Regions from separate parts of the Homo sapiens genome. Here region 2 is linked to region 1. Evidence: promoter capture Hi-C in 16 types of primary human blood cells and fetal thymus (Javierre and others, 2016). All regions are on one chromosome and are shown on one strand. The core of a region is centred on a gene start or on the middle of the fragment in contact, and the rest is flanking DNA. Distances in the headings are between cores, read along the strand shown. Region 1 holds the start of MSANTD4 (Myb/SANT DNA binding domain containing 4 with coiled-coils). Region 2 overlaps ANGPTL5 (angiopoietin like 5).

What was found. The method cuts DNA at HindIII sites, captures the fragments that hold promoters and counts their contacts. A CHiCAGO score of 5 or more calls a contact.
Region 2: a contact is called between a fragment that was not itself captured here and the fragment with the promoter of MSANTD4 in region 1, in 1 of 17 cell types (naive CD8 T cells). The highest score is 5.1, in naive CD8 T cells.

What each region holds. Positions count from the first base shown.
Region 1 is chr11:106,017,057-106,024,437 of GRCh38, reverse strand. It overlaps MSANTD4 (Myb/SANT DNA binding domain containing 4 with coiled-coils), which reads left to right and starts at 2,198. Exons shown (of 3, transcript NM_032424.3): 1 at 2,198-3,476. RefSeq lists enhancers at 1,657-1,726, 2,557-2,676 and a silencer at 2,117-2,226. The HindIII fragment of the contact is 3,155 bases long and covers 249-3,403 here.
Region 2 is chr11:101,900,683-101,907,384 of GRCh38, reverse strand. ANGPTL5 (angiopoietin like 5) reads left to right here. Exons shown (of 9, transcript NM_178127.5): 3 at 138-282; 4 at 1,538-1,641; 5 at 2,478-2,571; 6 at 4,664-4,764. Among named protein-coding and RNA genes, the nearest start is that of CEP126, 11 kb to the left of the region's middle. The HindIII fragment of the contact is 295 bases long and covers 1,618-1,912 here.

The sequences.
Region 1 (7,381 bases), core at 949-3,448:
TGGACAGCACAGTTGTAAAGTAAGTGTGTAAGTATCTTTGGGTCAAATCTCTAGCCTGGACTTAAGAAAAATTAAATCAGCAAACAGGTTGATCATGGAGTACTGATAGTACACATTATGGATTACCTTCAAATTCTTCATTGTTGGTCCATATCCACTCAGACAAGATGTAGCTGAGAGGAAATAGTGAGGGTATTTGGAAAAGATACTTCAATTAGCAAAGAGACTGAGGTTAATTGGGGAAAGCTTAGAGTTCATGATACGAAAGCAAAAGTTTGTTAATACTGATTCACCATTCTTGTCCCCATTACTGAGGTAAATAAACAGAGTCAAGTGGTGGACAGGTTCTGAACAGAACTGATAGTGTCTGGTTATGATGGGGATAGCTAGTTATCTTACTTTCTCACTGCACTCATCAAAAAAACACCACCCACCATGAACAAAATCCAAAATTATAAAATACAACTTGTATTTTTCCAAAAATTACAAGTTTCTTTTGATCTACTTTGGCAAAAGTATAGACATGCTTCTTTGACAAACATGTCTATACTTACTGACAAAGTCATAAGTAACAATCTGTAAGATCAATCTGATCATTACATTTTAAAGAGCATATTTCATAATTACTTCCTATTTTATGGGAGAGTTCCTCCAAGAATATCCAGCAAGGATGCACCATTCCTCCAGAATATTCCACCATTTATTTACCAAATCTTTTTTGTCTGTTACATTCTAGGCACTGTGTTATTCACAACAGTAAACAAGAAAAGCCCCACCCACATAAAATATGTGGGAAGTGCTGTCAGAGGAAAGGCCGTGATGAGAGCTCGCTGAAGTAGGCTTGCAGATTTAGTAAACAAAAATTTTTATTTTTTTAAATTTAGCAAATAAACATATGGATACCAAATATTCCATTGGACAGATTAAAAATTATTTGCTTTTTATCTGAACTTCAAATTTAACTGAGCGTCCTGTTTTTATCTGGCAAACCTACAGGGAAGGGAATACTTGGAAGTGGAGGGAGGGTGAATGGAGATAATTTTGGAAGCCTTCCTTTAGAAAGGAATTTCTAAAAATGAATGCTAGGCATAGCGGAGAAGCAGGGAGGAAACACAGCAATGCAAACTGACTTCCCAGTAGCCACTGTAGAGTTCAGGAACTGAAAGAAGCAAAGGGAATGGGGTAAGGAAGAAGAAATGTGGGTATAATGTCGAGAGATGAAGGTTGAGGGAAAAGTAGGTGCCTTATTTTTCAGGTTCGATAAGGAGTTTGTACTGTATCACCAGTGGTGAGATTCCACTAAAAAACTTTAAGCAGCTCATTTTGGCTACAACGTGAAGAATGAACTACAGTCCGGCAGACAGGATGTTGGGAGACCAGCTAGGAGGCTACTGATGGAATTCAGGTGAGTCCACAGAGGCCTGGACAGAGGCAGCGGGAAGAAAGGTGCACTAATCACAAACACCTGAACGTGAGACGGCAGAAAATAAGCAACTGCAAACTTGAATATAGAGGAGGACTGGGAGAGAAGAAAGCAGAAGCACATATTTGGGGAAACAGTGAAGAATGGTAAAAAAAAAAAAAAAAAAAAAAAAAAATTCAAATGTCTTCTGGGAAGTATATAGTATGATAAGGACTAAGAAGTGACTCCTAGATTTAGCCATAAGGAAGTCACCAGCGACCTTTGGCACGGGCAGCCTTAGAGGAATGGCTGAGGCCAATTAGGTCGCAGCTGGTCGAGGAGAAGGTGATGCTGGCCTAAGAACCCGACTGGAGCAGCACAAGTTTCCTACTTCTTCTTTGCCCTTTTAACAGGTGAGGGTCAAGGACAAGAGACGAGTTTGGAGATGCAGCGGCCAGTGCCCCAATCAGTTGGAACAGCGCAGCAAGCGGATCTCTAGGGGCCAATCCCTTCCTAGAGTCCACTTGACTGACAGAGCTGCGCGCCACAGACGGGGCACAGACAGGGAGGTGAATCACGAGGGGGCGGAATTCCAGGGCACTAACCCGGAACCGGTTTGGGACTTGATTCCCATTGTGAGGCCAGGCCTAGGGCGGGCTCTCAGCCAGAATGGCTACACCATTCTAACCAATGGATGAGACTCATCAAATGAGCGGCAGCCATATGAGCCATTGGGGTGGCGGGAGATGGGCGGGCCCAGTTAGTGGGCGGGGGATCAATGAAGCATCTTTTTTCCTACCCCCCTTGGGGCGACCGTGGGGAGGTGCCGCCGGGGTCGCAGGTGAGCGGTTCTATGCTGGAGGAGGCGGCCAGGGAAGCGGCGGCTCCGTGACCAGTGGGTGCCCTCGCAGTGGGTAGGGTCCCGGAGGGGTCAGCGGCAATTGGCGCAACGCTTGCTGCCGGGTTTGGTCCAAGGGCTGCGACGTAGCGGGACTGCACGCTCGGGAGAAGTGCCACGCGCGTCTGTCGCCTGACCGGGGAGGCTGGGGAGGGCCCAGGCCACGGAAACAAGACTGCAGAAGTTTCTGGGCACTCAGTCGGGACTCTCATTTAATACCCAGAGAGAGGAGATCTTCCAGGTTGCCCCGACTCCCACCGGGACTCCTACCAGCAGCAACCTCATCATTGTGGCCGAGGCAGGTGCGCGCCCCTGCTCCCCTGGGTGGCCTTCCGGGAGCCCAGTCTAACTCGATTCTTCCCAGGGGCTCTTTTTGGACGGTCCCAAAGGAGGCAGCGGGAGGGAGGTGAAAGATACTTTGATAACCGTCGACCCATAAGTATACTTGTTATGCACCTACCACGAGTTTTAGAGAAGAACATACTTTTTGGCAGGGAAGTGAATCCCCTATAAGAATATAGGGGAGGGGAAAGCCACACTTTAAAGAGAATTTGGGTAGGGTTTGATATTGTAGATTTGTGATGCTTTTCTTCTTGAACTGCTTAACTAATTTACCCTCAAATTTTTTTGATCCGGAACTTGCCGTCTGGTTTTTCTCAGACTTCTTAATTCTGACTTATCATGAAGTATCTAGGAACTTCATTCTCAAGTTTTAGTGCTTGTAAAAAGTTGCCTGGTTATATTATGCCATTGGCAGTACATCATCTTCACAAGGATTACGTAAGTGAACTACATCTCATTCCTGTTTCCAACTAGTGAAGAACGATTGTGAAATGGGATTTTAGAAAATGGCTGTTCTCTGTGATTGGGCATAGAAGGTTTGTAAGTTTTAGAGACTGCAGCTGTTGAATCCTTTCTGCTAAGAGAGCGATGACAGGCAATAGAAAAGGGATAGTGTTTGACATCTAAAATGACATATTTTCACATTTTATGAGGTGTTATATCCCCAGCACCAAAAATAGTGCCTTTCACACAGTAGGAGCTCAGTAAGTATTTTTTGAGGAAATTATTGGGGAATGAATGGATGGTAGAAAACCCAAGCTTCTGTTACTTGGATACCGGCATATAAAGGAGAGGACAGGAAGACAAACATTTCTGGAAATGGCTTTTATCCAGGTAAGCATATCTACAGAACTTCAACAACTCAAGATGCATCAATGCTGGCACTTTCTTGCACTTAATCAGAAAATATCAAGGTTTTAGAAGAAGATTTTCACACAATTAAGCCAAGACTGGGTATCTAAGGTGCATCCCAATATCAATTTCAGTCAGGTTAAAAATGTATTAAAGCCCATTTGATTAAATGAAATAGTTCATCAGTTCAGAATAGATCAGTCAGGACAACGGGATACCACTTTGTAAGTTAGAGATATGGAGTTAGGAATTGTTGGTCAAAAATAGGCCCTGCAAATAGCAACAGCTGCTGTCAAACTTTAAAAATATATTGACTCAGTGGTACTTCAAAAGGACTGCTATTTCTACCATGTACCAATACATTTACAACAATGCGATTTCTAAATTGATCTCAGATTCTAAGAGCAAAATCTTACGGTGGATATCTGCATAAATTTGGACTCTCGACAACTTCAATCATTTTTATTATATACTTATATTGGTTATATATTTATATGTTACTACAGTAACAGTTCTTCCATATTAATGGTAGCCTGCTTGAATTTCAAAAAACTTTCACAGTTATATTTGTCTCTTTCAGTTCATTTTTAGCAAATAATAGTCTTATTAAGCCAGAATTCGCTTAGTAAGATTTGCTGCTTGGCACTATCCTAATTTTCCAGCTTTAATTCCTGATACTTCTTTCTTTTATTTCTGTCCCTCATTAGTCTGTTTTATAAGACCCAAATCAAATGCTGATTCTGACTCAAAACATTCCTTGATCCCATCAAAGATTTGTCTTTCTTATGAATATCCAGAGTATTTTGTTAGTATTTCTTTATTGTAGTTTTTGTATATTTGCATTATTCATCCAGTGAAGAAATATTTGTTAATTACATTCAGATACTGTACTGGGCAATGGATAATAGCTGACATTTGTGGGCTTACTATGTCTTAGGCATGATAAACTTCTTAATCGGTTTATCTCTTTTAATCTTCAAAACATCACGAGTATTAGTCTATTATTCCCATTTATAGATGAAGAAACAAGTTTAAGAGGTTAAGTAATTCGCTGGAGATCACAGAGCTAGTTAAGTGGTGGAATTGGCATACAGCCTTAGGTAGTCTGTATTCACAACCTTCAGGTTACAGACTTCATTACAATTTGTTTATGTACTTTTTTTATGCATCTGTGTTTTACTAAGTTGCAAATTATTTGATAGCAGGAATAATATATTCGTATCTGATCTCTTATTGCTCCTAATGTAAATCAGTGGTGTAATAAAGCTGATAGTGGAAGCACATAGGGAGGACATCAGACTTAGGTGAATGGGAACAGTGAAGAGATCCTGGAACAGAAGACATTTAAACAAGAGTGCTGAAGGATGAGTAGGCATTGGCCTGACGAAAAGGCAGACACCATGGAAATGGGGAAGATGACCTGGGGAAATATATGTGTGATAGTCCAAGGTCAGGGACCATGATGGCTTGAGTTGTGCTGTTCCAGTATGGTAGCCAGTAGCCTTACATTATTGAATGTAAATATCTCAATAATTGTTTATATTGATTATATTTCAAAATAACATTTTGGATATATTGGGTTAAATAAAATACTCACTTTTACCTGTTTCTTTTTACCGTTTTAATGTGGCTACTTGGGGATTTAAAATTACATATAGGGCTCTTACATTTCTATTGGACAGCACTGATCTAGAATTTAGAGGGATTTGAAAATGACTGGTATTGTGTTTGTGTGCCACCTACATGTGAGTACATGTTTGATGAGGAAGGTGGATTGGGAAAGTAGGTTGGGAGTTGGTACTGGAGGTGATGGATAAGACCAGAAAAGGTAGATGGGAAAGTGTAAAGGTAGGGTTCAGATAGGGTTTACAATAGGAAGAGAGGAAGAGCAAGGGAAGTAAACTTACCTCTTAAGTGCAATGGAAAGCCTTGAAAGGTTTTAAACACTCAGTATATACCTATTGAATGACACAGTGTCCTAATTAATTCATCTAATAATGCATGTTCCTGATTTATACTACTAATTCAGTCATAATTTTTCCTAATGGAGATATGGATAGGGGTCTAAAGACATTCTACTTAGAAGAAAATTTGGTTCTCAAGAGAGCAGTCCTTTTCTTCTTATATCTAAATCACCTAAGCTTTCATTCATTCTTTTGATGTGTTTCCAACAAATAGGAGTGTGAATTGGTCCTACAACTAGCATATTCTTCTTGCATTTGACATAACATTCTCTTGGGCATATTTTTCCATAAATAAACCAGCTTTGTCTGTATTTTAAGTCTTTTGTGGCAGATGAGGTCTTTTCTTAATAATCTCCTAAAGGAAGTTTCTTAGGAGCTACACCATTTGCTCTCTGCCTTGCCTTTCTGTACATATTTCACCAAGTAAACTCTTAACATTGATTCTCTAGTTGGGTGGTTCTCAATCCTGGCTGCAAATGAGAAGCACTTGGAGAGCTTTTAAACTCTGAATGCCCGGCCCCATTCCAAAGATTGTTTTAATTGGTCAGAGATGGGAACTGGTTATAGGTATTTTTAAAAGCTCTTTAGGTTATTTTGATGTGCTATAGACCTACACTTTTGAGTAGATTAGCTACTAAATACATGTTCTATTGGGTTCTTGAAATGTGACTAATACAAAATGAGGTATGTTGTAACTGTAAAGTACACATTGTATTCTAATGACAGCGAAAGAAAACAATGGAAAATTTCTCATTGATAATTTTTATATTATTGCATATTGAAATAATATATTGACTATACAGCATATGGAGTGAAATAAAAGCTGTTAATATTAATCACCTTTTCATTTCATTTTTACTTCACTGGGATCACTAGGAAATTTTAAATTACGTGTGTAGATTACATTGTATTTCTATTGAACAGTGCCACTCTAGCCTAGACTGTTGCTACTCAAGATGCGGTCCGAGGACGTCATTTGTCAAAAATGTAGAATCCCAGGCCCCACCGCAGACCTGAATCAGAGTCTGCATTTTAATGGGGTTCCCAGGTGATTCATATACATGCTATAGTTTGAGAGACACAGCTCTAGCAACATCTAAAAAATGTTTTTCAATTGTATAATTTTTCTTCATTTCTTATTATTTTTCACTGTGGATTCCAACTTCGGCTCTTCATTTGTCATTTAGAATCATTCATATGCACGTCATTTCTCTGTTTTCAGTAAATTCTCTTAAATTTTTTTATCGCTTAACATTTTCAACAGACATAGCTTTTTAATGTATGTGATGGAATTAGTATGTATTCATGTAATACATATAATTTGTCCATAAATATTTACATACTATTATAAACGATTTTTCTGGAAAGAATTTCAAGAAATTGCTAATAGTAGTTACATTGGTGGTAGAAATTTTTCACTTCATTGTGAATTTACATTCTTATTTAGATTTTCTAACTATATGTATATTTTGCTGTTTTAAAAAAATGGGACTTTAAATAATGTAGTTCTCTATAATAAAAATTTCTTATAAGTAGATTTTTAATATAATGTTGATCACCTCAAAGTAAAATAAAATAAATGTGCTGTGGGCTAAGAAGCAGCCATATGGCTGAGACAGAAATGACTGTGCACATGATCCCCAGGTTGGTGGTAGACAGAGTTAATGAACCTGTTGTAGAGCATAGGATGTTCTGTGTCTGCGAATGTTCCTAAGTTGATCTGTGAACATGTACACACACAGACAGATGCATTTCCTTTGCCAATTTTGTTGGCTTGCATCAACTATAGCATCTACGTGGGGATTATGTGCTAAGACATCCATACTCTAACATGACATTTATTGCATATATTCCATTATGTGACTTAATAGTTTATTCATCCAGTCCCCTTTTGATAAATATTTCTATTTTTACCATGCTTTT
Region 2 (6,702 bases), core at 516-3,015, 4.1 Mb after region 1:
TAGCTTATATTTCTCTCTAATGATCAGCCTTGTCTTTCCTGAAATCTAAGCTTTTCTCTATAGTCTTTTTTATTATGTATTAGGTCATATAACATGTTTAATGTATTTTTTTCTTATTTCTATTTTTTAATATAAAGGACTCTTCAGTAGTTAACATTGTAGAAGATGGATCTAATGCAAAAGATGAAAGTAAAAGTAATGATACTGTTTGTAAGGAAGACTGTGAGGAATCATGTGATGTTAAAACTAAAATTACACGAGAAGAAAAACATTTCATGTGTAGTAAGTATTAAAAATAAACAAAATAATAAGAGTATATGATTCATTATTTTTAGGGTAGACACTGAAAAGTATACTTTAGCTTTTGTCTGGGTCATTTTCTATACATCCTGATCATCCTAGGCCAGAAGCTTTATTGTTTGGCCCATAATAGGTGCTTAATAAATATTTGGTAAATGAATGGATCCTTTCTCTATGTAGCTAATTCTGTGTGCAACAAAAGGGTCTCAGGCTTCTCAAACCAATGAGTGCAGCTTTAGACCTATTAAGACAGATGGCTAAATTCAGGAAAAAGCTAATAGAAAGTGACAGACTGAAAATAAGAAAGAGAGAGGAAGCAGAGTGAGGTAGAATTAAAAATATCAAGATTTTTTAATGTGATTCTACTGCTGGTGGAAAGAAAGTTAGAAAATAAAATTTTAAAGAATAACATACGTAATAGTGTGTGGGCCCTTTTGTTATAGGGGGCAACATTATTACTATCTTGGGTAAAACTCACATAGGGTCTGAGAAATATAGGTAGTGAATGTTTATTTCCTAATTTTGGTGGTATGTTATTAGAAATGTCTTTGGTGTAAGAAATATACACTGAAATAGCATGACGGTACATCATGGCAACATGGTCTCAAAGGCATTAGGAAAAAGTTATTTGTACTGTTATCGCAACTTCGCTATAAGAAATTTTCTCTTAAGATAAAAACATTTTTAAAAGGAAAATGTATAGTAAATGTTTAGTCAGAAACCAAATAACCAAAACCTTTGACTAACATTTATTATGTGTATGTATATGTATGTGCTAGCAATTTAATTGTGTAAATATAGTATTAATAGAAAAATTAAAACAAAGATGTACTTTTTAAAATTAACTTGCCTGGTATAAAACTGTCACCACTAACTTTCTTTTACAGTAAGAATTGATGAATCCTATAACTCCTGCCTCTATATATCTCATCTTATAAAGTGAGAATTTATAATCAGAACACTGTCTCTTAATGATAACAGATTAATTATTCTGGGTAATCTATATTAGTAGGAAGCATAGTTTCATTAAGAAGTATTGAGACAATCATTTCTGGGGTTAATCCTGAGTTAAACAAAAGATATACTAACTAAAATATGTAATTCTGAGTATTAAGATAAATTGAGATAGTATTGAGTTAACATACATATCCAAAATCAGGTAAAATTCACTATTTTTCACTGTAATTGTTTTCTGTAACAATATAATATTTAACAGCCACTTTTTATTATGGTTAAGGAAATTTGCAAAATTCTATTGTTTCCTACACAAGAAGTACCAAAAAACTACTAAGGAATATGATGGATGAGCAACAAGCTTCCTTGGATTATTTATCTAATCAGGTATAGATGTTTTAGTATTGTGTTGTTATTGCATGTACACGTTGATGTATAGTTAGCTGGAGGTATAATCTTTTTTTAAAATGCATTCATGTTCAGACATCTATTTAGCGCCTACCATGTTAGAGGCACCATAGTAAACTTTAGGCAAACAAAAAGCAGTAAAAAAATCGAACTTAATTCAAGGGGTATGGTCTAGTGGAGCATTAAAATGTGTTGACAAAAATGTGGTTGCTAGAATGGCACAAAAGAGAACTCTCAGATACAAAAAGCTTCCCAGAGGAGAAAGTCTGTTAACAGTCATGAAGGATGAATAAATGTTTTAAAAATCATAAAGGTTGGGTAAGGCGAAGAGGACATTCCATTCTGGGGAAACTTCTTGGTGTTGGTACAGGGTGGAGTGGCTGGTGAGGTTGAGTATTTAAGGAAAACTGACTATAGGAATAGGCAAGAACGAAGTCATACCACACCAAGGAGCCACTGTAGTGTTTAAGCAAGGAAATGCCACAATCTGATTAACTTGTGTGGCCAATGACTTGAGGAAGAGCCAAAGGAGGAGGTAAGAAACTACAGCAATGGTTTGGACAAGGTATGAAGGGCAGATGTGCAAGAGCAGCCAAATGCAGAAATCGGGGCAGATAAAATCAACGTTAAGGAGGTAGATACTACGAAATTTAATGATTGCTATTTAGCTTTGCCTTTATTCTTTGTTAAAGCAGTAAGAAATCAATCTAGAAAAATGGGCACCATTACGTATTTCAGAGCTGGGTTTATGAGAGGCTTAGAGATGGCAATTTCTTCAAATATAAATTTACTTAAATGTGTATGCATGTGTTTAGGTTAACGAGCTCATGAATAGAGTTCTCCTTTTGACTACAGAAGTTTTTAGAAAACAGCTGGATCCTTTTCCTCACAGACCTGTTCAGTCACATGGTGAGAACTTTGGTATTTCAGCCTTTTCATGTTTGTCTTTTATTGCTTAAAATTTTCCTGGACAGGTCGATCCATTTAAAAGTTTTATTTAAAAACTACAGCTCACCGTTCTCTAACAGACTGGAGGGCTAATACCTGCTATTAAGCAAATTTCACCATAGACAACGTGTACTTTCTTAAAATGGGAAACTTTTTCAACCATGTGAAAGCCATGGCTGTATAAAGATATCCTGAAGCTGTTGAAAATAACATAGCTTTCTATAGCTTTGTTCTGGACTCCCAGTTTATATCTTATTAATAATTCATCTTCAGATAGAAGAAAAGAAAGTTTCAAAGTTCCTCCCACCTGTAAAAAATGTTTTTGACATGTTTGAAATGTTTCAAATTGGGGCATAAAATTTGAAAAGAAAAAGAAATGTAAGACAAGAATAAACTGAAAGTTAGCACTTTTTATACTAAAATACAGCATATTAATTCCTAGAGGTTTGGACTTCTAAGAAAAATACCCTATAAATCTTATAAATATGAATTTATCCCCAAATGTTTAAAGCAAATAAATATTATTGAGGGCCTAGAACATGATCTTTATGTCCTTCTTCGAAAAAGAAGACAATAAACAGTGCCTAAAAATCTTCTATGTGATAGGTAGGAAGACAGGCACTTTCTCACATTATTTTGTTATTAAAATTATTTTATTATATCTCATAACTGCCCCAAAGCAGGCATAATGTGGTAGTCAGGAGCATGGACTCTGATGTCAGACTCCTTGGTTTCAAATTTCTTGCTTGCTGCTCTCTTGATATGTTTTCTCATCAGTAAACTGATAGTACCTACCTCTTACAGTTGATGTGAGGATTAAGTGAATAAATACAGGAAAGTCTCTTAAAATATTGCCCGAATCAAATGTTTATCACAAGGAAATAAAAAAAATGCCCGAATCACAGGCAGAACAATATAAGGGCTTGCTTGCTATGATCATCATCATCAGATAAGAAATATCCAGCCCAGAAAAATCGAAATAATCTGTTCACATTAATTTGAAAGGTAATGACATAGCAGACACTCCAACCCAGATCGGTCCTTCAGCGTGAACTTCTTTCATGTCTCTGAGCATAAAGTCATTATAAGAATATCTCTTAACAATTAAGGATACAGGCAACAACAAATCTATGTCTCCCAGAGACGAAGGGGAAAACAAGTGACTTTTTATAGCTAACTTTTTGTAGATGGCATTTTCTTCATTATTTGGGTGTGCTGGGCACTATGGTAAAGGCTTTATGTAATACCTTACTACGTAAATAGTTAGGATAACACTATGAAGTAAAGTGTTAGGAGTAGAACTAGGATGTTAAGATGGGCATTTGGATAATGGACGCTCTAAGGGTTGAATTTATTTCACTTATAAAAGATGCTACAGAGTAGAGTATCTTCCAGAAAATGTAATATCCATATCCACATACACGTGTTTACAATCCTGGGGAGATGAGTGCTTTGGAGAAGGTGATTATGGGGTGCTATAATTCTAACTGTTGTTAACAGAGTAGGCTCTAACATCAGGCATAATTTCTTGGGGAAGAAAGTGATTTTCCCCTTTCTTCCTTTGGCTACTTGTATTAGTGGTCCCAAACACATCAGTCTCTGAAGTTGGGAATAGAATAGTGAAATATGTGTCTGTAGTGGTTAATCTACTTATTCCTTTTGGTTTTCTCCTCCCTATTCATGTAGATTTCCTTTACACATTACATTCTCTAAGATAAACCTAAATTTCTGAAATGGCATTATTTATTGGTAAAGAGAATGTGTAATTATAAAATATGTTTAATAAGTGTTGATCCCAAATGAAACTTTTAAATAGTATAGGAAACTAATCACTAACAGTGACATTATAAGTGAAGGCTTATTGCAGCATAAATTCTTTAATCCCTTATATTTTCTTTTTATTTCTAAAATTGTGACCATTTTTCATTTTGAAGAAGTTAAAATAATATAATAATGAAAATTATGATAATAGCACTATCAATTCTCTATAGTAAAATGATTGCCTTAAATGTACATTTGAAAATATCCCAATTAAATAATTTTGCTTTTCTAGGTTTAGATTGCACTGATATTAAGGATACCATTGGCTCTGTCACCAAAACACCGAGTGGTTTATACATAATTCACCCAGAAGGATCTAGCTACCCATTTGAGGTATTTCCCGTATTTGAAGTTTTCCCGTATTATGTGGGCTAAGATAAACATCCAACCAATTTAATTTATGTTAAAATTTAAATTGTTTTAATATTTAATTTTTCCTCAAAAAATTTTAAATAAATTAGGTAAAGTTCTACTTTCAAAATTTTGGTTTTTTAGAATTCTAATGCCCAAAACATGAATTAATAAAAGAGCTAGAGTCTGTCTTTCACTTTTCTATTTGAGTTTCCATGGTTATACTCTTTAAAGTAAATCCATGTGATGCAAAAGCTTGTATTATCCTCGTAACAGGCAGAACTATAGCAGGCAGAACTATGCAATATAAATACTTGCTTGCTTTAATTAGCCTGTGGATATTGGAAAATAATGGTGTGCTTTGCCTTGGAGCTTACTAAAAATACTTTTGACTTCCCTTCCTGTATATGGTTATAATTTCTTCTGATGATAGATGATTTTATGTGATTGTATGAGAAATTAATAATTAAAAAACCTTTCAGTGGGGTACAAGGCAGACTGAAAAGCTGATTCATTCTGAAATTGATAAAATAAATTACTCTTATGTCTATTCTTAGTAGTTCTCTGCAAGGATATCTAGTAGAAATTTCTACTAGAGACTATGCATATTGATGGAATATATATGTGTGTGTGTATATATACACACGCACACACACATACAGTTATATATATTATATATATATTTTCCTGGGCACTTCTTTGTGCAGAAGAAAGTTTATGATACTTATACCTTATTGATAGTCTTTATTGGATAATAAAGTCACTTTTTTTCTAAGTAAATACTACCGGTTTCTCTTCTTAGAGTTACTACCATTATTTTATTTGGAATCTATTGACAAGATGTCAAAAAATTGGAAATTAGGTGGGAAATAATTTTAAAATTACCTAAGTTACTTCACCTACAGATTCAAAACTGGATCTGAACAGATGTGGAAAAGGAAGGCTTCTAATTTTATGAAGAGTGGGATGCATAATCACCTCTTTTGTGGGAAAGTGCTGGTTCCTTAACTTCCTCCACACTGCCTTTTCTCTGTCTCTATGCGGGAAGTTTCTGAGGGAGAATTTTGCTCTGATTTCTTCCCTATATCGCTTCTATGGGTGCCCTACAGAGGTCCTTTTAGGGGCATTTTACACAGCATCAACAGATGTGTCTATGAGCACCTGCTGAGTGGGCACAGATCATGCCTTTCTCTGAAAATGCCAGTCTGAAAACAGGCCTTCCAGGTTTGTGGGAGAAAAGAGCAAAGACAAGCACGTGAAATATTTAGCCGTGCACACACACCCCCCCACCCCCAGTGTTTTAATTCAAAATTTAGTTTATAGAGAAATACATTGCTCTGCCACATCAGAGCAATACTGTTATACAAACTGAAGAATATTTATAAAGTTGAGTAATAAGAGGATAACTTTAAAATGCTGCAAATACGGCCAGGCGCGGTGGCTCACGCCTGTAATCTCAGCACTCTGGGAGGCGGAGGCGGGAGGATCACGAGGTCAGGAGATCGAGACCATCCTGGCTAACACAGCGAAACCCCGTCTCTACTAAAACATACAAAAATACAAAAGAAAAAAAAAAAAAAAAAAAAAGCCGGGGGTGCTAGCGGGCGCCTGTAGTCCCAGCTACTCGGGAGGCTGAGGCGGGAGAATGGCGTGAACCCGGGAGGCGGAGCTTGCAGTGAGCCGGGATCGCGCCACTGCACTCCAGCCTGGGCGACAGAGGGAGATTCTGTCTCAAAAAAAAAGGGGGGAAAAAAAAGCTGCAAATACATATTTTTAAAAATGATTGTTATAAGGACTGTGATTAAGTTAATTACAAATTTGTTTGATAATAAACAGTATTATTTAGGTTAATTACAGGTTTGCTTTATAATAAACAGTATTATTTCTAGAAATATAAAAAACATCTGAATAAATTAATGG